Regions from separate parts of the Homo sapiens genome. Here regions 1, 2, 3, 4 and 5 are each linked to region 6. The links are contacts of gene promoters, found by promoter capture Hi-C in human tissues and cell types (Jung and others, 2019). All regions are on one chromosome and are shown on one strand. The core of a region is centred on a gene start or on the middle of the fragment in contact, and the rest is flanking DNA. Distances in the headings are between cores, read along the strand shown. Region 1 overlaps JAM2 (junctional adhesion molecule 2). Region 2 has its middle 75 kb from the start of LINC00314. Region 3 overlaps JAM2 (junctional adhesion molecule 2). Region 4 has its middle 57 kb from the start of LINC00314. Region 5 has its middle 97 kb from the start of LINC00314. Region 6 holds the start of ADAMTS1 (ADAM metallopeptidase with thrombospondin type 1 motif 1).

Region 1 (4,451 bases), core at 1,212-3,711, 1.1 Mb after region 6:
CTTCTCATGGTTATTTGCACAACTTGCTTCCTCACCCTCTTCAGGCCTTTCTCAAAAATCACTTAGTGAGATCCTTTCTGACCACCCTATTTGAAATTAGAATCTCTACTCCTACCCTTTGTATTGTATATTCTCTTATTTGTTTTATTTTTCTCCATAATGGCCCTATCTGATATACTATATAGTATTACCTGTTTATTTTCTGCCTTTCTCTACTAGAATGTAAGCTCCATAAGGCAGAGTTTTGTGGGGTTTTTGGCCTGTTTTGTTCACTGCTGTATCCCCATTCCTTAGAACAGTGTTAGGCACAAAATTGGTATTCAATTAATATAAAAAAATGACTGTTAACTAAAATTTTATTTGAAAATTTTCAATTTAGCAAAATACAGTAAATTTTTTTTAAGTTAGTTTATACAAATGCCTATGAAATCAAATTAGTGACCATATTTCTTGTCTGGGTAATCATCATTCTCTCTGTACTACCATTTACAAGTAGGCTGGGTAATCATCATTCTCTCTGTACTACCATTTACAAGTAGGTATGAAGTGTGAAGTGGGATGTTGATAGAGTCTGGATATTTGCCTTGCCCAAATCTTATGTTGAATTGTAATCCCCAATGTTGGAGGTGGGGTTTGTTGGAGCCGATTAAATCATGGGGGCGGATTTCTCATGAATGGTTTAGTACCGCCCCCTTGATGCTGTCCTCAGAATAGTGACTGAGTTTTCTTGAAATCTGGTTGTTTAAAAGTATGTGGCACCTCCCCAACCTTGCTCCTGCTTTTGCCATGTGACGTGCCTGCTCCCGCTTTGCCTTCAGCCATGAGTAAAAAGCTTCCTGAGGCCTCCCCAAAAGCCAAGCAGTGTTGGTGCCAGGATTGTACAGCTTGCAGAACCGTGAGCCAATTAAACCTCTTTTTACAATAAACTACCCAGTCTCGGGTATTTTCTTACAGCAATGCAAGAACAGCCTAATACAGATGTATTTCTTGATAAACTTGAGTAACTTCTTGTGAGAGTAAACCTACACAAATAACCCAACTTCTCTCTTTTGACTTTAAACAGATGATTAATAGAAAATTAGTTGACATAGGAGAAAGACATGCATTGTAGGAAAGTATACTTACTGGAAGGAGGTTTCTTCTACAAAAGAAAAAGTATATATCATTAATGCAAGGGTTATTATGGTATGATACAGATTCATATAAAAATGAGTTTGGGTTTAATTTATTTTTATTAATTTTAATCTTCACTTGCTGACGTTTATACCTTCTAAATTAAGAGTTGGCAAACTTTTTTGGTAAAGAGCCATACAGCAACCATTTTAGGCTTTGGGGCCAAGAGGATACTATATAGGTACTTAAGTAACAAGAGAGCAAACAAATTTCCAAACATTTTTATGGATAAAATAAAAATATAATAATAATAATAACAATAATAATAAAAGTCTTGAAAAACAGGCCTACTAGTTAGAGAAATGGAATGCTTTTGGGGAAGATAACATTTCTCTTAATTGGGGTTCAAAGTCAGCGGGCCCTATCATCAAATAGATTGTAAATGTTCATCTGTAAAGCCATTTTTGTTCATAGGCCATAGAAAAATAGGCGGGGAGGGCAGATTTGGTCCACAGATAGTAGTCTGCCAACCTCTGTCCTAAACATATATTCAAGAATATGCTTCTCTTGGATAGATTTTTCTGCTAGATGAAAAATCAGAGTAACATTCTTAGGTAACGAACTCCTAATATTCAAGTCAACTTTTAATTAATTCAATATTTTAGGAAAATTTTTTTACTAACTCCTCATTAAAAAAACTCAGACCAGTATTATTTTAGGCTATAGATAAAGATGACAAGAGTTTTGGAAGAGTTATCTTATTTGTCTGTACTTTCACTGATGACCAGCAGGGGGCCACAGCTGGATTCAATTCATAAAGTTACATTAAAGTGGGCTAAATTGAAGCACTGAACAAGTATTAATTGACAGAGCCGCTCTTTTTGTTTGTTTGTTTGGTCAGTGTCTTGCTCTGTTATCCAGCTTGGAGTGCAGTGGTGAGATTACAACTCACTGCAGCCTCGACCTTCTGCGCTCAAGCGATCCTCCTACTTTAGCCTCCTGAGTAGCTGGAACTAAAGGTGTGTGCAACGATGCCTGGCTTATTTTTTATTTTTTGTAAAGAAAGGGTCTCCCTATGTTTCCCAGGCTGGTCGTGAAGTCCTGGACTCAAGTGATCCTCCTGCCTCGGCCTCCCAAAGTGTTGGGAATGCAAGTGTGAGCCACCACACCCAGCCCAGTTATTCTTAATTATAGGGCATCTCTTTGAATCCATGTCCACGGAAACATTTTATGAGACATAATACCTAGTTGTAGGTATTATTAGGAACACATTTTATATTTAAGTTTATTTTTGGCATAAAATATATTTTTAAAGGCCAAGAGTGGTGGCTCACACCTGTAATCCTAGCATTTTGGGAGGTTGGGATGGGAAGATTCCTTGATCCCAGGAGTTCAATACCAGCCTGAACAACAGAGCAAGAACCTGTCTCCACAAAAAATAAAAGAAAATTAGCCAGGTGTGGTGGTATGTGCCTGTAGTCCCAGCTACTTGAGAAGGCTGAGGTGGGAGGACTGCTTGAGCCCGGAAAGTCAAGGCTGCAGTGAGCCTTGATCACACCACTGCACCAGGCATGGGTGACAGAGTGAGACCCTGTCTCAAAAAAAAAAAATTGTTTTAAAAATCTAAATTCCGAAATTAATGTTCGCTGTAAAACAATGGGTCTAGAACTTGTATATGCTATAAATTTATAATTCAATTAAGAATTTTATTTTACACACTATTGCCAGTGGCCCTGATAGAATGCTGCAGCTTCTGAGCTCTCCAATAATATTAAAGAGGGAGTGAAGAAATGCATTAAGAGAATAAAACATTTTTAAATCCCACCCATTTACATCAAACCTATTGCATTATCAAATGGAGGTGTGAAGTTACAAGAGGTCTAAATTTGAAGAATTCAAAACTGTGTACAGAAGTAGCTCTCATAAATACAATAGGTTTCTATTTTTGACTGAACAATTCTCTTTTTTTGTTGTTTTTTTGAGATGGAGTCTTGCTCTGTCACCCAGGCTGGAGTGGAGTGGCATGATCTTGGCTCACTGCAACCTCCACCTCCCAGGTTCAAGTGATCCTTCTGCTTCAGCCTCCTCAGTAGCTGGGACTACAGGTGCATGTCACCACTCCTGGCTAATTTTTGTATTTTTAGTAGAGACGGGGTTTCACCATGTTGGCCAGGCTGGTCTCGAACTCCTGACCTCAAGTAATCCTCCCGCCTCAGACTCCCAAAGTGGTAGGATGACAGGCATGAGCCACCACACCCAGCTGAACAATTCTCTTCTAAATACAGTTGTCCTAAATTTAACATTCAACATTTCACTGTTCTACACTGATGAAATATTTCACTTATTTATTTCAATGAAATTTCTTAAAGAATTTGAAATCAACTTATATCTTGAGATATACAATTCCTAACTTAAAAATATCTTGTCTGGGCGCGGTGGCTCACACCTGTTATCCCAGCACTTTGGGAGGCCAAGGTGGGTGGATCAGGAGGTCAGGAGATTGAGACCATCCCGGCTAACACGATGAAACCCCGTCTCTACTAAAAATACAAAAATTAGCCGGGCGTGGTGGCGGGAGCCTGTAGTCCCAGCTACTCGGGAGGCTGAGGCAGGAGAATGGTGTGAACCTGGGAGGTGGAGCTTGCAGTGAGCCGAAATTGCGCTACTGCACTCCAGCCTGGGCGACACAGTGAGACTCCGTCTCAAAAAAACAAACAAAAAAAAATCTTAAAAACATGCAAAGATACTATAAATATCCGTTCACATTGAATATCTCTGTCTCGCTGCACTGCACCACTCCAAGGATGCCTCTTGCATATTCTGTGGTGCTCCCTGGAATGTGCAACTAGGCAGTTCTGCCTTTTCTCCCTAGGTTTGCCAAGGTGTTTCATAAGCCACCTGCATGTCATCCTGAACATTTTCTATAGCAGAAAATAAATGAACAATATTCTCCAGAGTTTGTTAAAACTTGCTAGGAGAGGGCCGGGCACAATAGCTCACACCTGTAATCCCAGCACTTTGGAAGGCCAAGGCAGGCAGATCACTTGAGGCCAGGAGTTCGAGACCAGCCTGGCCAACATAGCGAAACCCCATCTGTACTAAAAATACAAAGATGAGCTGGGTGTGTTGGTGCACACTTGCAATCCCAGCTATTTGGGAGGCTGAGACATGAGAATCACTTGAACCTGGGAGGTGGAGGTTGTATTGAGTGGAGATTTTGCCACCACTGCACTCCAGCCTGGGCAACAGAGCAAGACTCTGTCTGAAAAACAAACAAACAAACAAAAAAACAACTTCCTAGGAGAAACAGTATCTCATAAATAAACTCCATAGCCATA
Region 2 (4,436 bases), core at 638-3,137, 1.1 Mb before region 6:
AGGGCCAAACGTTATTTCATATTGCCTTGCTTTCCACCCTGGGATCCAACTCCCTCTGCCACGGCAGGACTGTGTGTCCTTTGCCTTGAGTTGACAGAGAACTGTTCTTTTGCTTCTAATTAAAACAGTCAGGGGTATTACTGATTAAAGGTGGGGAAGCAGAGAACTGTTTTCATTTTATTCCAAATTAGTTTGAGCTTACCCAAGATCAAAGAAAATCCAGACCTGAGAAAACAAACAGACCACAAGCAAGTAATTTGTTGACCTGATGCTATTTCCTGGAATTAAAGTTATTGTGGCCCTTTGAAAGGCTAGCTCAGCAATCATGAATCCATCAAAAGAGCGTCTAGCCAGGGAACATCTCAGGGTTCCCTGTTTCTGAAAGCACACTTTGAAATCTAGATTTTAGTAACACGAAGTCCAGTCCGAATATTATCAAAGGCTCAAACACAAGTGGATTTCAGTTGAAACATATATGCAAGCATACACAAACACACACACACACACACACACACACACACACACACACACAGCCCTGTGTGCAACAGTTTGCTTGTCTGGGGCTTTTGGTTGTATGTTTGTCATTAGGATAGCCTTCTGCTGCTAACAGCTCAGCCACTCCATAGGATGTGCTAGTGAAATGACCTCCTTCGGAGTTGACAATTACATCTATTTTCTTACTGTATTAGAAATATCAGCTTTTTTTTTCTAGAACCCATTGTTTTCATGACATTTCCTTTTTAATTTTTTTTTTCAGGGCAGTAATAAAAATCTACTCACTTAAAGTCCTAAAACTTTCGACTAATTTTCTTTTCATCCCAGATACTTGGATGCAAAGTAGAATTGAGATAGAGGATTGAAGAGAACATACAAGTGAATATTTTGGGCCTTATTGTGAAAATTTGGACAAAACAAAAATGGTCAAAAGCAAACATGTACGCTGTAATATAAATACATTTATCACCCATGCTAAATAAAGCACAAATCTTACATCATACAGTTCTATTTCTCATGATGTACACAACACTTTCTAAACTGAATGCTTAGTGGATATGTGAATTTTTAAAGTGCAACTGATATTTATATTTAAATGTTAAATTTAAGGGTAAAGATGAAGTCAAAACATTCTCACCAGTTATTTAATAGGTATAAGTGAGCTGAACCATAATAAGGAAAGAAAAATCTTTACATTCTACTCTAATGAGGAAGGAAAAATCCATACATTCAAATGAGTTTGGGTATCAGAACTCCAGGGTCAGACTTTTGGAAAATAATGAGACCGATAGATATGCAAAGAGATACTTAAAATTAAGTATTACATGAGATATTTAAATTGCTTGCTGGTCCTTTGAGTCATCTCTCTTTGGTGGTGCTTTGAAAATTGTCTTTATCAGAGAATTTTTGAATGGATATTTGAAGAGCTCAATAAATATTTTATGCTATCTATTTTGTGACTTCTGTACTTAGGATAGATGAAAAAAGAAAATGAAAGAGAAAATGAAGAATGAGAGAAAGGCAAAGACACTTTGTCCAAAATTTAACAGAGCTATTTTAAAGAAAATTGTCTTAGCCTAAATGTGACTTTAAAAAAATCTTTCATATGTTACTCAAGAAATGAAATATATAGTAACATTACATTTATACCTCTTTTTACTTAATGTATATTTTATTTTCATTTATTTTCTGTTTTTTAAGGAAATCATAAAAAGTACTAAAATTTATACAATTTTCTACTGACTTGCCTCCTCTGTTCCAAATCTCTGTGCTAAATAATGGATAGATAATTGTGTAGTGTGGCGCTTAATCACTTGTGACTTTAATACTAGAACCCTTGAACCAATAGACCTGAATAAACTCAAACACTAGAGACTTGTAAAAACATATTTTTTAAAACATTCATACGTCTTCTTACAATGCAGTATAGGATTCCTCATTGATAACTACATTAGGATGCTTAGCAAGTTCTAAATGAATTCAGAGAAAGAAGCATTGTTATGGTGTTTATTAGCTTGCTTGCTTTCTTTCTGTCTCTCTCTCTTTCTTTTTTTCTTTCTTCCTCTTTCTTTTTTTTGAGATGGAGTTTTGCTCTTGTCACTCAGGCTGTAGTACAATGGCGTGACCTCGGCTCCCTGCAACCTCCACCTCCCAGGTTCATGCCAATCTCCTGCCTCAGCCTCCTGAGTAGCTGGGATTACAGGCATCCACCACCATGCCCAGCTAATTTTTGTATTTTTAGCAGAGATGGCGTTTCACCATGTTGGCTAGGCTGGTCTCAAACTCCTGACCTCAGGCGATCCGCCCATTTCGGCCTCCCAAAGTGCTGGGATTACAGGCGTGAGCTACCGTGACAGGCCTGTTTATTAGGTTTCTATTGTGCAATAACAAATTACAGTCAATTTAATGACTTGAACAACACAAATGTATTATCCAAAATCCAGCAAAGGTTTCAAGCAGGCTGTATCCTTCTCAGGAGGCTCTAGAAAAAGCCTGTTACCTCATTTAGGCTGTTGGGTGAGTACATATCCTTAGTGGTGTAGGGTGGAGGCTCCCATCTTTTGGCTGTCTCAAGTGAGGGCCATTTCCAGCTCCTGGAACCACCTATATTCCTCACCTTTCACCCTATTCTTCCATCTGCAAAGCTAGCAACATTAAAGCTTGTCCCTCTCACTCTTTGAAACTCTTTCCTTTTTCCTGTCTCATCTTGCTCTCTGGCCCAGCTAGGAAAGATTTCCTGCTCTAAAGAGATTATATCATTAGATTGTTATCTATCTAGATAATCCAGAATAATTGTCCATCTCAAGAATTTAATAGCACCCACAAAGTCCTGCTTTCCATGTAAGGTAACAGATGAATAGATTCTGGTGACTAAGTCATAGGCATTTTTGGGAGGCTATTATTCTCTCTAACACAAGTTGTTAAATGATGCAAAGTTTCTAAGGGAAGAGGTAGACTAGTTTTTTTTGTTTTGTTTTGTTTTGTTTTGAGACGGAGTCTTGCTCTGTCGCCCAGGCTGGAGTGCAGTGGTGCGATCTCAGCTCACTGCAAGCTCTGCCTCCCGGGTTCAGGCCATTCTCCTGCCTCAGCCTCCCAAGTAGCTGGGACTACAGGCGCCCCCCACCACGCCCAGTTAATGTTTTGTATTTTTAGTAGAAACGGGGTTTCATAGTGTTAGCCAGGATGGTCTCGATCTCCTGACATTGTGATCCGCCTGCCCTTGGCTTCCCAAAGTGCTGGGATTACAGGCGTGAGCCACCACGCCCAGCCTAGGTAGACTAGTTTTAAGAGAACATAGAACTAAAAAAATGTGGAAAAATACTGTGGCTTGAAGCTGTCATTATAATTAAGCACTATTGATGCATCGATGTCTCACACGGGCAAACATTTTTTTTTTTAGGCAATGAGCAACTATGTACAAATTATTTATGTAGAATGGTGGGTATCAGACGGTATTGAGAGAAGAAGTAATTTGTGCAATCTTCAGCTTAAAACAAGGTTTCTTTCATTGAATTTCTTTTTAAATTTTGGCTGCATCTAATAATTATCTACTCTAGACTGTATCTACGTAGAAAAACAATGTCTGACAATAAATAGATGCCATGAGAGCCAAAAGTGTAATTACAAGTAAAATAGCAGAGCCTCTGTCCTCATGGAATTGTTTATTTATTCGATTCGGATTTGCACATATTCGTAATGAACTAAGTAATTGGATAATTAAATTCACAAGATTTTTTAAACTTTGTTTTAATTTACTTCTCCATAGCACCAAGTAGATATGAAAGAAATACTGTTGCCAAATAAATGGGTGAATTGCTTCCCAAGTACAAAGCACATGCTTGAAAATTTAGGGCCACCAAAATGTTTTATAAGCAAAAAAAAATCTCTTTCAAATTCCATCAATTTGTTGGTAAGTTGTATCCTGAGAATATAAAGCATAACATGCACTTTGCTGACTGCTAAAGATAGAATTATAAACAAGGTAAAAGCAAGTATGTATTTTGTGTGAATTTTTCCATTCCTTATTCAAAAAAGATTAAGAAAGCTTATGACTTGAGCATTTTAGAGTATGGTGAGGAACACATATAAATATAATGTGAGTTCTACTAAGATTTACAGCTTGGGAATTTATAGATAACATTAAATAATGGGAAAATTATAATAGAATACACATAAAACAGATAGATATAATCACATATCTTTGGATATCCATCAGAGAGCAATGAATCTACCTGAAAGACTCATGCAAGCCTTTCCCAAAGTTTTGCATTTTAGCCATTTAATCACCTCAGAGAGATAAGAGAAGATAATGCATCCATAAAACAAGAAGAGGATGATACAAACACCAGAGAATAGAAAAGGTCTCAGAAATGGCATCTATAATACAAAGGAAACAGTCAATAAAAAGATTAGAAGATAAACAACATACAGTATAAACTGGA
Region 3 (4,584 bases), core at 368-2,867, 1.2 Mb after region 6:
TGAAAGATGTCAGACATCAAAACAGACACTTGGCGTAATGGCAAAGAGAGAAAGAACAACAAGCCTGGGTGCCCTCCTTACTAATGAGACATGGTCTGCGTTGTGTATAGGCGCACCTCTACAGCAGAGATGGTGCATCAGACTTTGAGAGCTATATAAATTAGGATTATTCATTGCTCTTTAATCTGAAATTGTAGTTACCTAACTCCTAGACCTAGATACAGCTTTTAAAGATTAAAAGTACAGAACCACTGCCAGCATTTGGCAGTTCTATTTCTCACTAGAAATATACTTACTCATTTACTTGTCAAATAAATCATTTTTAAGATTAGGTATTGTAAATCATTTCTCCAGAGTTTGATCAGCTCTGGGCAAGTGGTTAAAACTGAGTCTCTGAACCTGGATTTGAACTCTGGTTCTGAAATTCTGTGAGAATCTGTGCATCTCTGCACAAAACACCCTAACAGCTGATACACACCCAGATTTCTCAGGGGCTGTTTGGGTCAGGGATAGAGAAATAATTATTCCACAGGTATTTGTTACTTACTAAACCACCTGGATGTGGTGGCATGCACCTGTAATCCCAGTTACTTGGGAGGCTGATTTGGGAGTATTGCTTGAGCCCAGGAGTTTGAGACAAGCTTGGGCAACACAGCAAGACCCCACCTCAACAAAAAAAAAAAGAAAGAAAGAAAAAGAAAAATAGCTGCTTAAACAATGTATGTGACAAGATACATCACTACCATCTACTAAACTCTCTCCACCTCCCACGCTACGTAGATGTTTGGTATTGTTTCAAACTTCCTTTATATCTTTGTAGTTTTACTTCTCTGCTTTACTGAGTGAATTTCCACAATCACTAACAGTTTAATGTGTTTGGCAGAGATTAGCATAAAAAGAGATCAAAAGGATTCTCTAATATCACCAATCTGTTAAATGTATAATCTGCAAATGAGGTTATCTTAGCATTTCTCAAACAAAGAGAATCCTTTTCTGCTGGGCGCAGTGGCTCATGCCTGTAATCCCAGCACTTTGAGAGGCCAAGGCCAGCAGATTGCTTGAGGTCAGGAGTTCGAGACCAGCCTGGCCAACATGGTGAAACCCCATCTCTACTAAAAAAATACAAAAAATTAGCCAGGTGTGGTGGTGCACGCCTGTAGTCCTAGCAACTCAGGAGGCTGAGGCAGGAGACTCACTTGAACCTGGGAGGTGGAGGTTGCAGTGGGCTGAGATTGTGCCACTGCACTCCAGCCTGGGTGACAGAGCAAGACTCTGTCTCAAAGAAAAAAAAAATAAAGAAAAAGATAATCTTTTTCTAAAATAGGTTGTATATAATAAATAGGCACATAAAGGGATACAGGTTGACCATGAGTTTAATAAGGCTTAAGTTTTGGGACCAACCCTTACAAGAGTACTTACCAAGGCCCAAGTGAGGGTGGGTGGGGAAGGCTTAGCAATGCATGCACATTTTGTAAAATTTGCAAGAATAAGCATTTTTTTGTATTATTTTTCTTACACAGGGAACTAATATCCCACTCCACATAATTTTGGGCTTCTACTTATTAATGAGTTTACTAAGCTTTCTCGATTTTACCACCCACAAAGCTGGGAGAAAGAAATGGTCTCCACGGACCATGATCTGATATTCAGCCTTTAAAATACTAGAGATTTTATATGGCCAATGATTTAGCATGCACACTTTCTATCAAACTTCATTTCTTAAAATATGAGAGCTGTGTGAATTTTATTTTTCAACTTTCCTGCTGGAAGATGACTCATAAAATCTTGGCCCTTACATTACATACAAGTGTTATTAATTAAATTCTATTACCACAAGTGCTTACAGAAGAAATTTGAAAACCAAGGGAAACTTCCCAGCCATTGTTGCTTCATGCTTCCTTTGATTAGTCCTCAGGAAGCCAAAAAACAAGAACCATTTATTTTGAAGTGCAGAACATGGAAACAATGGTTTGGCATTGCTTAACTGTCATATTCACAATTGTCAGGCAAGATTCCTAAGAATTAGCTACCCTGATTTCTTGGGTCCTGTAAATCCAGGAACCACAATTTCCCTTTTCTTTTGGTAAAAACAGTTCTCTGACTTTTTTAGTTCAAAACTAGTCCTACACATCCAACTGTGAGCTAACACCAACACGCACTTTTTTAGGATCAGTGAACTAGACCAATAAAATAAATAATTTAGTGAATATCTGCACACATTAAAATCAGTGGGACCTTTGGAGCTGCTTCCTAGAATGGTCAGGAAATGAGTTTTTGTGCTATTGGATAAAGGTCAATTTTTTTTTTTTTAAATTTTGACACAGGGTCTTGCTCTGCCACCCAGGCTGGAGTGCAGTGGCGTGATCATAGTTCACTGCAGCCTTGATCTCCCGGGGCTCCAGCGATCACTGCACCTCAGCAATCCTGAGTAGCTGGGACTGTGGGCACATACCACCATGCCTGGCTAATTTTTGTGTTTTTTGTAGAGACAGGGTCTCTTTACGTTGCCCAGGCTGGTCTCGAAACTCTGGGCTCAAGGGACCTACCTACCTCGGCCTCCCAAAGTGCTGGGATTATAAGCATGAGCCACCATGCGCAGCCAAGGTCAAATTTTTGAAACTCTTTCAAATTGAGTATTGGAAAGAAGAACAAAGGTATTTGTGTCCAGATATGGTAGGCAAAAGTCTAATTGTCGTAATATAACTCAAGTGAAATGGCTGTTTGATGTTTGTCATAGCATGAAGAGAACTGGATTTATGACAGAATCTACCAAAAGTTTTGAAATTATTTAGAGTCAGCCTTAGCACATAATCTTAGCACTTAGTCTTAATAAGGTGGTATCAGAACTGACTTTACCCCCATTGGGATAAAGAACTAAATTGTATTCTACCACTATTATTTTCAGCAGCTTGGCTTTTTGAGTAAGTATCATCTAAAATTAAATAAAAGACAACATTAGAGTCTAGCAAGGTAAGAAAAGAGTAGTCTATTAGAGAAATGCAACTTAAGTCTTAGTCTTCATTATAGATGGAAACAGAATCATTCTGTCTTTAGGAAGTCATAACCCAGTATTTGAAACCCAGTGCTGTGAATTACTAGCCACGTCACCTTGGATAAGCTACAGCCTCAGTTTAAGTAAAATGAAGCTAGTAATGCCTTCCCTAGCTGGTTGTAAAGATGAAATAAAATCATGTACATAATTGCTTAGCCTACCTCTTGGCACACAGTAGATTCTCTATAAATACTTGCTTCTCATCCCTCTCCCCTCACTTCACATTGCTTTTTATCCAATGTGGTGACGCAGATAGAACATTTCACAAATGATTCTACAATAATCGCGTATGAGGATGTTCTATGAAAAATGAATTGTTAGGGTTATACTTTTCCCCCATCTTCTTTTTTTTTCTTTTTTTCTTTTTTTTCTTTTTTTTGAGACAGGGTTTCACTCTGTTGCCCAGGCTGGAGTGCAGGCGCGCAATCATGGGTCACTGCAGCCTCAACCTCCCCGGGCTCAGGTGATCCCCCACCTCAGCCTTCCGAGTAGCTGGACCACAGCTGTTAGCCAACATGTCTGGCTAATTTTTCTATTTTTTGTAGAAATGGGGTTTCACCGTGTTGCCCAAGCTGGTCTCAAACTTGTGGGCTCAAGTGATCTGCTTGCTTCAGCCTCCCAAAATGCTGGGATTATAGGTGTAAGCCACCACACCTGGCCTCCCCTACCTTTTTAAAGGTAATGACTATTTCATTACAGTGGAAAAGCCCTGGGTTTAAATTCTTCCTCCTTTTTTGTCCTTGCTATGATATGTTTTGGATAGTTAAAACCTCTTTGGCTGTGTCTCGTCCTCTGTAAAACATAATTTATGATGATGCCTTCCATAACTACCTCAATTGACACAATCCATCACACCCTTCTTCTTAACACGCTTTCTACACTTAACGTCCAGGACAACACACTTTCCTAGTTTTTCTTCTCATGGCTCCCATCCTTGGTCAAATCTACTTCTCTATCTGTATTTCCTTCTTTAATGATGTGATCCAGATTCCTGGCATTAAACACTCTGACATGCTAAACACTCCCAAATACATATTTCCATTCTGGACATCTTTGCTGAACTTCAGATCCAAATGCCTATCACCTGAAAGTTTATGAGACATTTCAAACTCTACATCCAAATATCATCTTTCTTTCTAAACCTGTTCCACCTTCTCCACCTCAGATGATGGCAACTCAATTATTCCATTGCTCTGGTTGAGAAAAATCTGGCATTTATCTTTAGTGATCCCACGTATCACAGCCCATTCCTATTCATTAGCAAAACCTACTGACTTTACCTTCAAAATGCATTCCGAATCTGACCACTTCTCACTCCTCCCATAGCTACTACTGTGGTCTGAGCACTAACATCTCTTTCTTGGATTGCTACAATAGCCTCCTGACTGTCCTGCTTCTGTCCTGCCTTTCTGGAATCTAATCTCAACACATCCACTAGAGTGACCCTTTAAAATGCTAAGTCAGATCATGGCACTCTTCTGCTCAAAACCTTGGACTGGTTCTTCATTTCCCCAGAGTAGAAGGGGAAGTTC
Region 4 (4,340 bases), core at 1,125-3,624, 1.1 Mb before region 6:
TTTTAATTTTAATGTCAAATTTATAAACTTTTTTATGCTTTGCACTTACTGCACCTTGTTTAAGACATTTTTCTTTACATTCAGATCAAATACATTGCTTATGTTTTCTTGTAAGACGTTAGTTTTTATCTTTTATGTCTATAATCTGCCGGGAATCTAATCTGTGTGTTCTGAGGATTTTGCGTGTGTGTGTGTGTGTGTGTGTGTGTGTGTGTGTGTAGGCAAGTTATGCAGAGATCAAATTTTATTTATTTTATTGTGAATGATTAATCGTTCCTGCAGCATTTGTTGAGTCTTTCTTCCCAGGCAAGTCATATATTAAGTATAAATATATGCAGGGATCCATCATTGGCTTCTATATTCTATTCACCTTATCTACTTGTCTATCTCGGCACCAATACTATACTGTCACTGCTGTATTTTAAACATCAATAAGTATGCCTAGCAAATAACAGATATTCAATAATTAATTGTTATATGCATGAATTAATACTGTTTTGTAATAAGTCCTGAAATATGATAAGATAGGTCCTCTCATGTCTTTCTTCTTCAGGAGTGCCTTGTCTAATTCCAGGGTTTTGATCAATCATGCACATTTTAGGTTCAGCTTATTAACTTACATGAAATACAATGTTGGTTTTTTTAGTTTATGGAAATCCCATAATTCATCTTCAACAATAATCAATATTTTGAAATCTTGTTTCGTAATACTACTTTTTTTTAGAATGCTTTAAAACACATTCCAGACATCATTCAATTTTGTTAATACATAATTTGGTATCATCACGAAGAAAACAGGAATTTACATAATTTTCATGCTGTTCCTAAGATCAAAATAAAAATTTAAAAAAAAATAGTGACTAGTCTAGTTTTCCCAATTATTTTAGAGATATTTTCTTACCATTGATTAGTTTAATAAGTTCTCAAAAAAGGGCTACTCATTACTTTGGCTATTTGGTTTCTCATGAGTTTCTCTCCTCCAACCTCACCTTTTCTGTTTATAGCAGGTTCTTTCTAAACTTAAAAATAATTTTCAAGACTATTTTTAAAATTTTGCTTTTCAGTTAAAGTATTGGGTACCTAGAATGCATAAGAAAGAACGATAATGAAGTTTCATCCAATAAGTAAGTTAATATCAATGAAGGGAACCTAAGAACTGAATTGGGTATTACTAATAGTAGTGATAAATTCCAGGGATCATCTCAAATAAACTTCCAGGTCTATAGTTCTAAAGATTAATTTAATAACTTTAATAGTGGAGGTAAATAGAAATGATTGACATTTTGTCACATGGCATTATATTTTGATTTCTCATAATTCATACCACGCACTATTCTTCCCCTTTTCATTTCCTCACTTCCCATTCTTCCCCTTCATCTTTTATCTATCTAAGAAATTCTGTCTCCAGGCTGCCAGAGCCATAAAAGTATCACCAACAAACAATAATGGCAATAACAGCAAAAGCAGTTGGAATTACTTCTGCTCATTTACAGGCATATGCCACAACCACAACCAAGACCCAAAATATATGCTTATTTTTGCAGGTGCACTTCTATTATTCTAAGACTTTATGATAAACATTTTAAAACATAATTTAGGAATTACCCATCAAACTCCTTTTCTTCAGTGAAGCAGAGGGAACATATTGCTCTTTAAAGGAATGAATTCTTCCGGAGCATGCTGGTATTTGTGATGGTTTTGTTTATTTCAAAGACTAATTCCCACTTCAAATAGAATTTTCAGGTAAAGAACTAATTTCTCTTCTAACATCCTTGGAAACTGGGAACTGGAAATTGATTGACATAAGCTTGCATAATGAGATTGAACCTAAATGCACATGCTTCTGAGAATATGTGATGGGTTTGACATTACTTTTAGGAACCAAGCTCTTGACCCAAAAAGCCACTTGCTTGTTAATAACACTCTTATGAAATACACAGAAGTTCATTATCCCTTGGGACTTCAAATCACCCTGCAAATACCTAGTCAGTCATTCTGTGTTGAAGTCATTTATTTCTCCTTAGTTTGAATAGCTAGAATCAGATCTAAATGTTCTCTCTAAAGAATTGTTTTTAATTGAAGAAAATAAACATTCTTTTAAAATGTTCTGGTGCATTCTTTTAAATACACCAGATTCTAATTTACTTTGCATGAACAAAGCGCAAATATCAGAAATACTAAAATCTATTTTGAAAGTTTGCACATAGTAAGCTAGTCCAGAATCTGACCAGAAATACCTATTTTTTACCTTTATTATTTGATAATGCTGGCAGCATATTAAAACAGTCCAATATCTGATGAGTGGTTCAAAACTAGCAAAGTATACAATTATCTAATCTGAAAAACCACTTTTTATTGATTGATTTGCGTGGTTTTTCATTCTTTGAAAGTAGAGATCTTGACTAAGACATTCAATCTGCGTAGCAGTCATAAAATTTAGTATCCCCTTTGTGACATGCTGTGTGTGGAAGGGTTGGGGAGGAGCTATTGATAATTTCTTAGGACATCGAGCACAAACCAGGACCATCCTGAGCAAAGTATATGGTCAGTATATACTTAAAGACAGTTTATAGAAGTGATGATAAATAATCCAAAGATGGTTCTATTGTCATAAACTTGAGCAATTTCCCCCCCAACACTCACTTAATTGGTTCTCTCCAATAAATATTCTTTCTTTAAAAGTTTCAACAAAGTTTTAAAGGTCTAACTTTTACTTTTGACTTATTCGTTTTGCCTGGAAGCACTAAGGCTTACAGTCTGTGGTGACTGGCAGTAAGAATCAACATGGTTTTCCTTTTTCTTTTTCTCCAGTGAAAACTATTTCCACTTTAAGTCTTCTGCACACGGCAATTAATGAGAGGAAATAATACTCCCTGACCAAATCACAAACATTCTGTATAATCATATAAGTTACTTTTCCAAGCTGCACAAATGATATGTTTCACATGCTGAGAATTGTTAACAAGTACAGTACTCAATACGCAATGTTAGAACTTACTTTGTTTAAAGCAAATAGACTGAGATAAAATATCTATCCCCTAACCCCAAGATGCTTACAATCTTCCTAGAGTTCAAGGCTTGCTTATAAAAACAACAACAACATCAACAACAAAGCAATAAGAGGCAATGAATGGCAATACAGATAATAAACACCAGAAAGAAGTTCGCTGTAAGTTGGTGTAGTTATGGAAATGATGATCTGTAGTTCGTCTGAGAGAGTTGCAAGATTCTAAACAGAGAGCTTTTTCAAAAAAAAAAAAAAAAAAGCATGGTTAAAGGTTAACAGCATCAAAACCACATTTTAAAGTGTTTGTAAAATGTGGTCTTAAAAGTCCCCAGGCATGGTTTTTGAAATCTTCTGGGTTGAGCTCTCGTTCAATAGGGAACTTGCCTTGCAGCAAAGCAGATGCACTTGAATCCTGCCCTGGGAAGAGACCTCCTCCAAGGGTTGAGGAAGAGTTTAGATTCTCTCAGCTGCATTCCATTTCTCTCTAGTCTCTGAAGACTGACAACTGGGGATTTGTAAAGTGGGCATTTATCCACCTCTGAGAACAGTTCTGGAACGATCTGTTCAATTTGGGCAAGCTACGGAGTAACCATCTGTGGGTGACTATTTTTGCATGTAATTTTGAATAAATTTAAAATAATGTCCTAGAGGCAAAATTCTCTTCTTTCTCAGTCACAAGTGATCCTGAGACAAATGGGCCCCCAGCTAGAACTGACTCACTCAAAATGTACAAACATCTCCAATGTCACCTCAACAACCTCTTTCTGAATATGAATTACTTTCCTCTACCTTGTAAAAAATAATTTATATTAGATACTGTCTCATCTTCCTGACATACTAGGGGTTCCTTTGAGGCTAATCATTTTTTTTTTTCTTTAAGAGATAGTCTCACTCTGGTGCCTGGGCTAGAGTTTATTCGTGTGATTATACCTCACCGTAACCTTGAACGCCTGGGCTGAACCCATCCTCCTGCCTCAGCATCCCTAGTAGCTGAGATTACAGGCCTGGCTAGTTTTTTTATTTTTTGTAGGGATAGAGTCTTGCTATGTTGCCCAGGCTGGTCTTGAACTCTTGGGCGCAAGCAATCCTCCCACGTTAGCCTCCCAAAGCGCTGCACCTAGCCCAGTGTTAGTTCTTAATATTGCTTCTTGAGTTTTATGTGGGATCAAAGTAAAATGGTGAGGTCTGGATTAAGTAAACAGAGCAGACATTATAAACAAAGGATGTTCCTATACAAAACAGGGTACCCGCCTTCCAGTTGTCTGCCCATCACCCAAGAATTTTGACTGTTGCAGGAAAAAAGTTTGCAATTAAAGATTGATTCCGCAATGCG
Region 5 (4,587 bases), core at 936-3,435, 1.1 Mb before region 6:
CCAGGCATTCAGTGGGGGTTTGTGGGATGGGTGACAGTAGTGAAGAGATGGAACACAGAGGTTTTTTAGGGAGCTGAGATTATTCTGTGTGATGCTGAAATATTGAGTACATACACTATCAGTCTGTTGCAATCCACAGAACTTTACAAAACAAAAAGTAAACCTAACCTTACACAGATTTTTTAAAAAGTCATTTAGAGGTCAGGAGACTCCAAGATGGAATTCAGGCTGAGACAAAAAATATCTAACTGTATTACAAATGTATGAAATATCTTATCTGAAGGGAGTGGAGGATAACAGTGGTGACATAAGTAACTTTGAAAATAAATGGAGATGAGTCTGTAATAGTAAAGGCAAAAGAAACTACATAAGCACCATATTCTAGTTGAAAAGGGTGTTTACACAGGGGTACAGATTAACAATCCTCATACCACTATACAAACATAATGGAGTTGAACAACTATATAAATGATTGTCTGACAGTGGCTGACAGGCAGTTTTCTTACTTTTGGAACGAGAGATTGCAGTGACCAAGGAGATACGGCTGGAATTATCCATGTGTTATTACAGTAGACTTCAATACACCAGTATGAACTTACATTTTGCTTAATATAGATATTTCTGGCTATAGAAATATAGATATATTTATTAATATGTGTATATACATGGGTTAATATACTCACACATTTTTTTTTCTCTGTCAGTTGAGATAGTCTGGAAGCATCAACACTGAAGTAGCAATAAGCCCACTTAGCACTTAGATCTTGGTTCCTAATACTATTCTCTGTTAAAAGGAACCATGAATCTTTGGAGAAATGGCTGGTTCTAGGATTGAGTCAAGAAATATAGGAGATGTGCTTGGAATACCTTGTAGGGGTAGAAGGCAAGCAAGTGCAAAAAACCAAAACAAACAAACAGAAATACTCACAATGATAGAATTGTGTCAAAGACACACAAAAGACACAGGAGCCAACTAAAATAGCTCCCAATGGCCAAAGCTAGAACACCTTGAAAAACAAAATAGTGTTAAATACTGAATATAAACCCCAGCTTAAAAAATATATTTGTGAGTCCATACAAATATGTTGCAATATAAATAAATGAATAAACAAATAGGAGAGAAGAGACAAATCTCTGATGCAGAAAATTTCGAAGTAATTTACATAAAGAGTAAAAGTAACATAGATGAGTATCTACATTACACTCTGCCCTCAAGGAGGTAGAGAATAAGCCCTCATTCTTTAAATGTAGGCTGTGCAGTGACTTCCTCCCAAAGACTACAGTGTAGAAAGGGGGAAAAAAGTAAGTTTATGGTCAAGGAAAATGACAAACTCTATCAGCTACGTGATCAAGATTAACATCAACAGTAATACATTTTAGGTGCTCTTACCTCACACGCAAAAACAATGTAAAGTGATAGATACATTAATTTGCTTGATTATGCTAATTATTTCACTATGTATATCAAGACATGTTGTACAGTTTAAACATACACAATAAAATCAGTGGTAGATTATACTTACAGTATCTACTTTTAATGTAATGTGATGAGAATTACACTTTACCTTGTGGTCTTCCTTTTAAAAACCAATAACCTATGTCTTATGATGAGAAAAGCATTAGAAAAAACCTGATTGAGCATTCTGCGAAGTACATGATGAGTACCCCCTCAAAACTCTCAGGTCATTGCATCAGTCTGTTTACTCACTGCTGATAAAGACATACCCAAGACTGGGAAGCAAAAGAGGTTTAACTGAACTTACAGTTCCACATGGCTGGGGAGGCCTCAGAATCATGGCGGGAGGCAAAAGGCACTTCTTACATGGCAGCAGCAAGGGAAAATGAGGAGCAAGCAAAGGGGAAACCCCTGATAAAACCACTGGATAGTGTGAGACTTATTCACTATCATGAGAATAGCATGGAAATGACTGTTCTCCCATGATTCAATTACCTCCCCCTGAGTGCCCCCTACAACATGTGGGAATTCTGAGAGATACAATTCAAGTTGTGATTTGGATGGGGACACAGCCAAACCATATCATTCCACCCTGACCCCTCGAAATCTCGTGTCCTCACATTTCAGAACCAATCATGCCTTCCCAACAGTCCTTCAAAGTCTCAACTCATTCCACCATTAACTCAAAAGTGCACAGTCCAAAGTCTCATCTGAGACAAGGCAAGTCCCTTCCACCTATGAGCCTGTAAAATCAAAATCAAACTAGTTACTTCTTAGATACAATGGGGGTACAGGTATTGGGTAAATACAGCTGTTTTAAATAGGAGAAATTGGCCAAAACAAAGGGGTTACAGGCCCCTTGCAAGTCCAAAATCCAGTGGGGAAGTCAAATCTTAAAGCTTCAAAATGATCTCCTTTGACTTTAGTTCTCACATCCAGGTTATGCTGATGCAAGAGGTGGGTTCTCATGGTCTTGGGCAGTTCCACCTTTGTGACTTTGCAGGGTACAGCCTCCCTCCCAGCCACTTTCATGGGCTGGCACTGAGTGTCTGTGGCTTTTCCAGGTGCATGGTGCAAGCTGTCGGTAGATCTACCATTCTGGGGTCTGGAGGACGGTGGCCCTCTTCTCACAGCTCCACTAGGCAGTGCCCAAGTAGGGACTCTGTGTGGGGGCTCCAACCCCACATTTCCCTTCCACAGTGCCTTAGTAGAGGTTCTCCCTGAGGGCCCCACCCCTGCAGCAAACTCGCCTGGGCATCCAGGAGTTTCCATACATCTTCTGAAATCTAGATGGAGGTTCCCAAACCTCAATTCTTGACTTCTGTGCACCAACAGGCTCAACACCATGTGCAAACTGCAAAGGCTTAGGGCTTCCACCCTCTGAAGTCACAGCCCAAGCTCTACATTGGCCCTTTGGAGCCACGTCTGAAGCAGCTGGGACACAAGGTACCAAGTCCACAGCATGTGGACCCTGGGCCTGGCCCACAAAACCACTTTTTCCTCCTCGGCCTCTGGGCTTATGATGGGAGGGGCTTCCCTGAAGGTCTCTGACATGGCCTGGAGACATCTTCTCCATGGTCTTGGGGATTAGCATTAGCCTCCTTGCTACTTATGCAAATTTCTGCAGCTGGCTTGAATTTCTCCACAAAAAAATGGGTTTTTCTTTTCTACTGCATTGTCAGGCTGCAAACTTTCTGAACTTTTATGCTGTTTCCCTTCCCAAACAAAATGCTTTTAACAGCACCGAGTCACCTTTTGAATGCTTTGCTGCTTAGAAATTTCTTCTGCCAGGTATCTTAAATAATCTCAAGTTCAATATTCCACAGATCTCTAGGGCAGGGACAAGTGCTACTAGTCTCTTTGCTAAAACATAACAAGAATCACCTTTGCTCCAGTTCCCTATAAGTTCTTCATCTCCATCTTAGACCACCTCACCCTGGACCTTATTGTTCATATCACTATCAGCATTTTATCAAAGCCATTCAACAAGTGATTGGATGGGGACACAGCCAAACCATATCATTTCACCTCAACCCCTCGAAATCTCGTGTCCTCACATTTCAGAACCAATCATGCTTTCCAAAATTTCCCCCATTTTCCTGTCTTCTTCTGAGCCCTCCAAACTGTTCCAACCTCTGCCTGTTATGCAGTTCCAAAGTTGCTTACATATTTTGGGTATCTTTTCAGCAACTCTCCACTCTACTGATATAATTCAAGTTGAGATTTGGGTGGGGACACAGTCAAACCATATCAGTCATCAAAAACAGAAAACCTCTAAGAAATTGTCATGGCCCACAGTAGCCTAAGGAGACATGACAGAAAAATGTAATTTTATTCTTGATGGGATCCTGGGACAGAAATCTAAAGCCAAGGAAACCTGAATAAAGTGTAGACTACTGTTAAAATAATATACTTGTATTTGTTTATTAATTGTAAAAAAAGTTACCATACTAATGTATAATGTTTGCAACAATAAAAACTCAGTGTGGTGCACATGAAAACTCTGTCGCCCTCACAGTTCTTCTGTAAGCCTAAAACTATACTAATTTCTTACAAAGTTTAGGATTCATATATATTTTTTCATATATGTACTCATATACATATAGATACTCTTTATCCATTTATCTGTTGATGGACACTTAGGTTGATTCCATAGCTTCACTATTGTGAATATTGCTGCAATGAATATGGGAGTGCAGATATGTCTTTAATATACTGATTTCCCCTCTTTGGATATATAGCCAGTAATGGGATTGATGGATTACATCGTAGTTCTTTTTTTTTTTTTTTTTTTTTTTTTTTTTTTGAGACAGAGTCTTGCTCTGCCACTCAGGCTGGAGTGCATTGGCATGATTTCGGCTCACTATAACCACCACCTCCTGGGTTCAAGCAATTCTCCTGCCTCAGCTTTCCAAGTAGCTGGGATTACAGGCATGCACTACCGCGCCAAGCTAATTTTTGTAATTTTAGTAGAGATAGTGTTTCCCCATGTTGACCAGGCTGGTCGAACTCCTAACCTCAAGCGATCTGCCGGCCTTCACCTCCCAAACTGCTGGGATTACAGGCTTTTTTTGTTTTGTTTTATTTTGTTTTGTTTTTGAGTAATTTCTATACTGTCTTCCATATGGCTG
Region 6 (4,429 bases), core at 730-3,229:
GAAGTAGGAATGATCAGATGTTTGGGAAAAGACGCTTGGGAAACAGAGAAACAGGAAGGAATAATCCTCGTAGTTCGAAGTCGAAGAGAAGGAGGTAGGCTGGACAATGCTTGACAATGCAGAAAGGAATCACACACTCAGGTGTGCGGATGTCAATGTTGAGTTTGAAGGAGAAATGCAACGGCGGGAGGGGGGGAGAGACAGCGAGGGCTGCAAAGGAGAGACTCAGTGAAAAGAGGTAGGCAGAAACACTATCAGAATGTTAATCGAGCGCTGTCAAAATATATCTAAGGCCTTGGTTGATTATTCAACGTTCAACGATGAGGGTGATTTTAGGAAACCAAAATTAAATCTACGAAACCACCCACTCCTAAATGTGTAGGGACTAGAGGTCGTTACTAAGCCCTTCAGAAGTAAGCTGAGTTGCTTCTCTCTGCCATTCTTGCTCATTTGATTTTTCCTGATGAGTGGAAAGCAATGTTTTTGTTTTTGTTTTTCAAGTAAGCAATCTCGCTAGGAAAAAAGAAGTTGGAAAGCATCCGGAAAAGAAAGCTTGTAAGAGGGACGTGTGGGAGAACTAGAAGGGACGCTTCTGGCTGGGGCCAACTGAAGTGGGGAAGATCTGGGGAGGAGCGAGGAAAGGACCCAGATCTACTTGGAGCCAACCAAGAGACCGGACGGGAGTGGGGCGGAAAGGCGGAGACCAGTTCGAGCACTAACGCGGGGGCGCGCGAGTGTGAGGGTTGCGGGTCCGCCCGGGGCTAGGGCGGTCGCTCTCGCCATTGTCCCCGCGGCTTTCCGCCTGTGAAACACGTCCTTCCTCTGGGTCCTTGAGCCCCTCCCACTTTTTGGAGAGAAGAGCCACTCAGTTTTTTTTCCTAAGGACCTGTTGGTGGACCTCTCCTCGCTTTCGTAACGCGGATATAGCCTTTTCCCTTCCTGGTAGGAAGAGGAAGGAGGGGTCCGGGAAGGAAGCCGATTTCCTTCTTTCCCCCTCTGCACGCTTGCTAGCCCCAGCGATCGCTGCTGGCCCCCGGGTAGGAAAGTGGGGTTCCTGGCCGTTTCTGCGACGCTGGCCTAGGGCTTGCAGCTGCTGTTGAGTGAAAGCACGCAGACTGGCGGGAGCCGATCATTTCTCGAATGAAGAAGAAAAAGCGCAATTCCCTCCTTATGCTCTAGGGAATTGAGCCGCGTCCCAGATCACCCATTCCAGAAATGTGAAACCGGGCCCTCACAAAGTCGTCTCTGGTGAAGAGGTGGCGTGCGGGGTGGGGGTTGGTGGAGGGTGAAGGCATAAGCAAACATATTTTAAAATCCAGATCGTAGGAAGTGTCACCTGGCCCCTCACCCAGGCATGCTTTCTGGGGGAAGCGCAGGGCCAAGCTTTCCCTAGAAAAGCTGGGGCGAAGAGAGAGCAGGCGGCGGCTAAGGAGCTCCTGGCAGGCTGGGAAGGTGGAGAAGTGGGGTGAGGTATTTTTCTAGAAAGTGTAGCCCTAGCTCATCTCCTAGATTGGGGAAGAGGGAACTGAGGGAGGAGGGAAGGAGACCCAGGGCAGCTCCAGGATAGGGAAATGTTGAAGAAGGGACTGCGTTCTCCAACCGAACCCTCCCTCCTGGGAACCGCAGCCCAGCGCGGTAACTGAGTTACCGCAACCGGGCGGTGGGGAGGAAGGGTGGTCCAGGAAACCGGCGAGGGAGAAAAGCGGTGGAAGGGAGAGTCTTCTCCCTGGAGCGGCCCCAGCAGTACAAAGTGCTGGTCACAGCGCCCCTTCCGCCCCTAGATTGACGAGCAGTGGCGTGGAGCCAGCGCGGAGGCTGCCCCCTCCCCCTCCCGAGCCCGCAGCGCGGAGCGCGGTTTAGCACCAACGGAGCCGGGGGCGGCGTCTTTGGGATGGAAAAGGGCCAAAGGGGAGGAGTGGGGTGGGGGTGGGGGTTTCACTGGTCCACTATAAAAGGACCGCTCGGCTGCCCGGTTCTTGCACTCGCTGGAAAGCGGCTCCGAGCCAGGGGCTATTGCAAAGCCAGGGTGCGCTACCGGACGGAGAGGGGAGAGCCCTGAGCAGAGTGAGCAACATCGCAGCCAAGGCGGAGGCCGAAGAGGGGCGCCAGGCACCAATCTCCGCGTTGCCTCAGCCCCGGAGGCGCCCCAGAGCGCTTCTTGTCCCAGCAGAGCCACTCTGCCTGCGCCTGCCTCTCAGTGTCTCCAACTTTGCGCTGGAAGAAAAACTTCCCGCGCGCCGGCAGAACTGCAGCGCCTCCTTTTAGTGACTCCGGGAGCTTCGGCTGTAGCCGGCTCTGCGCGCCCTTCCAACGAATAATAGAAATTGTTAATTTTAACAATCCAGAGCAGGCCAACGAGGCTTTGCTCTCCCGACCCGAACTAAAGGTCCCTCGCTCCGTGCGCTGCTACGAGCGGTGTCTCCTGGGGCTCCAATGCAGCGAGCTGTGCCCGAGGGGTTCGGAAGGCGCAAGCTGGGCAGCGACATGGGGAACGCGGAGCGGGCTCCGGGGTCTCGGAGCTTTGGGCCAGTACCCACGCTGCTGCTGCTCGCCGCGGCGCTACTGGCCGTGTCGGACGCACTCGGGCGCCCCTCCGAGGAGGACGAGGAGCTAGTGGTGCCGGAGCTGGAGCGCGCCCCGGGACACGGGACCACGCGCCTCCGCCTGCACGCCTTTGACCAGCAGCTGGATCTGGAGCTGCGGCCCGACAGCAGCTTTTTGGCGCCCGGCTTCACGCTCCAGAACGTGGGGCGCAAATCCGGGTCCGAGACGCCGCTTCCGGAAACCGACCTGGCGCACTGCTTCTACTCCGGCACCGTGAATGGCGATCCCAGCTCGGCTGCCGCCCTCAGCCTCTGCGAGGGCGTGCGCGGCGCCTTCTACCTGCTGGGGGAGGCGTATTTCATCCAGCCGCTGCCCGCCGCCAGCGAGCGCCTCGCCACCGCCGCCCCAGGGGAGAAGCCGCCGGCACCACTACAGTTCCACCTCCTGCGGCGGAATCGGCAGGGCGACGTCGGCGGCACGTGCGGGGTCGTGGACGACGAGCCCCGGCCGACTGGGAAAGCGGAGACCGAAGACGAGGACGAAGGGACTGAGGGCGAGGACGAAGGGGCTCAGTGGTCGCCGCAGGACCCGGCACTGCAAGGCGTAGGACAGCCCACAGGTAGAAGAATTGCTCTCGTTTGTCTGTCCATTCATCCTCCTCTCCTCACTTTATCTATCCCACGCGACTTCAGGGTAGACTCCTGCTGGCAGGCAGGATCATAAGTCCGCGGACAGAACGGAGGCCTGGAGTGGAGGAATGTGGTTTGAGGTTTGGATTGGTGAACTCAGCTAGAAAACATACTTGCATTTGCCCGAATAATGAATAACCAAGAAAAAAACTGACAAACGATTTTCTGCAAACTAAAGCAAAGCATTTAGGCCGGGGAGGGAGAGTTTGTAACCTGACTCCTTCCACCTTTAGCGAGTTGGAGCTTGTGCGAGTTCTTTCCACTCTGTGTATTTCTTTTTAATGATTTTGTGTGCGCCTTTTGTGCGGGTTGCAACGTTGCGCTGAGTTTTGTAACCGCTGCCTGTGCGTGCATCCTGCGCTCACGGGAGGGCGGATGTGGAGAGGGCAGAGGAGCAATGGTGACCTGGGAAGGTACCCTGAGCGGCTACGCTAGGATCTCTGTTCTGCAGACTTCTGTCCCCTTTCCCCCTTATAAGGCTGACCCAGGCGGGCTGAAGGCGGTGGGGCCCCTTCGCAGAACCTGCTTGGGAGGTCTTTCCCGGGTTTGCCCCGCCTCCCAGTTTGCACTCCCTCTCGCGGCCATAATTCTGCTCTCAAGCACTGTTGAAAGTCACTGCCGGTCCTTCCTGCTACGGCCTTCTCTCTGTGCAGTGCTTATTCTCCAGTTCTTTTTGTTTCATCACTTTGGTGCCTTTTTCCTTCTTTAACTCTCTCGCGTGTCATTTTTTAAAGAATTCTCCCCTTTTCCCCTGCTCCTCTGCTCCTGGGAGCAAAGTGGTCGCAGCCCAGTTTAGGACTTTCTGCAGGGGTTGGGTCTCAGTCCGGAGTGGAAGGCTCTGTTCCAAATAATCAATCATGCCTGGAAGCTGGAACTTATTTCGCTGGGGCAGTGGGAGTGGGGCCAGAGGCTGCTGGGCAGAGTGGGTGGTCCTTGTGCCCGGAATTGGCAAGAGCGGAGCACCCCAGGGACCCCTGGAATGAGACAGCAGAGCTGTGCAGTCTGAGATTCCTTAAGGCCCGGCCCCTTGGCAGCAGCCCAGGCCCTACCCGAGGCCTTCCACGTGGAGCCTGATGATCTCATTCAGGATTTGAGCCCTCGCCTGTGAAAGAGTGACTCAGGGCCTCTGCCTGCCGCTCTTGCTCCAAGATTTTACTACAATTGGGTAGGATTATGTGCGAAATTGCCTTGTTCAG

The links. The method cuts DNA at HindIII sites, captures the fragments that hold promoters and counts their contacts. A contact is called where the count stands out against the background at its distance.
Region 1: a fragment that was not itself captured here is called in contact with the fragment with the promoter of ADAMTS1 in region 6 in 1 of the 25 tissues and cell types used here (bladder).
Region 2: a contact is called between a fragment that was not itself captured here and the fragment with the promoter of ADAMTS1 in region 6, in 1 of the 25 tissues and cell types used here (dorsolateral prefrontal cortex).
Region 3: a contact is called between a fragment that was not itself captured here and the fragment with the promoter of ADAMTS1 in region 6, in 1 of the 25 tissues and cell types used here (hippocampus).
Region 4: a fragment that was not itself captured here is called in contact with the fragment with the promoter of ADAMTS1 in region 6 in 3 of the 25 tissues and cell types used here (IMR-90 fibroblasts, dorsolateral prefrontal cortex and hippocampus).
Region 5: a contact is called between a fragment that was not itself captured here and the fragment with the promoter of ADAMTS1 in region 6, in 1 of the 25 tissues and cell types used here (IMR-90 fibroblasts).

The regions. Positions count from the first base shown.
Region 1 is chr21:25,706,124-25,710,574 of GRCh38, reverse strand. JAM2 (junctional adhesion molecule 2) reads right to left here. Exons shown (of 10, transcript NM_021219.4): 8 at 1,126-1,141. The region is part of intron 1 of LOC124905002 (a long non-coding RNA gene); the gene reads left to right. Among named protein-coding and RNA genes, the nearest start is that of ATP5PF, 27 kb to the left of the region's middle. The HindIII fragment of the contact is 5,528 bases long and covers 1-4,451 here.
Region 2 is chr21:27,936,604-27,941,039 of GRCh38, reverse strand. No RefSeq gene overlaps it. Among named protein-coding and RNA genes, the nearest start is that of LINC00314, 75 kb to the left of the region's middle. The HindIII fragment of the contact is 5,541 bases long and covers 1-4,436 here.
Region 3 is chr21:25,668,219-25,672,802 of GRCh38, reverse strand. All of the region lies in intron 1 of JAM2 (junctional adhesion molecule 2), which reads right to left. Among named protein-coding and RNA genes, the nearest start is that of JAM2, 31 kb to the right of the region's middle. The HindIII fragment of the contact is 4,887 bases long and covers 1-4,060 here.
Region 4 is chr21:27,954,075-27,958,414 of GRCh38, reverse strand. No RefSeq gene overlaps it. Among named protein-coding and RNA genes, the nearest start is that of LINC00314, 57 kb to the left of the region's middle. The HindIII fragment of the contact is 6,895 bases long and covers 1-4,340 here.
Region 5 is chr21:27,913,670-27,918,256 of GRCh38, reverse strand. No RefSeq gene overlaps it. Among named protein-coding and RNA genes, the nearest start is that of LINC00314, 97 kb to the left of the region's middle. The HindIII fragment of the contact is 7,334 bases long and covers 1-4,587 here.
Region 6 is chr21:26,842,959-26,847,387 of GRCh38, reverse strand. It overlaps ADAMTS1 (ADAM metallopeptidase with thrombospondin type 1 motif 1), which reads left to right and starts at 1,979. Exons shown (of 9, transcript NM_006988.5): 1 at 1,979-3,163. The coding sequence starts at 2,434. RefSeq lists enhancers at 595-1,194, 1,195-1,795, 4,233-4,429. The HindIII fragment of the contact is 5,494 bases long and covers 969-4,429 here.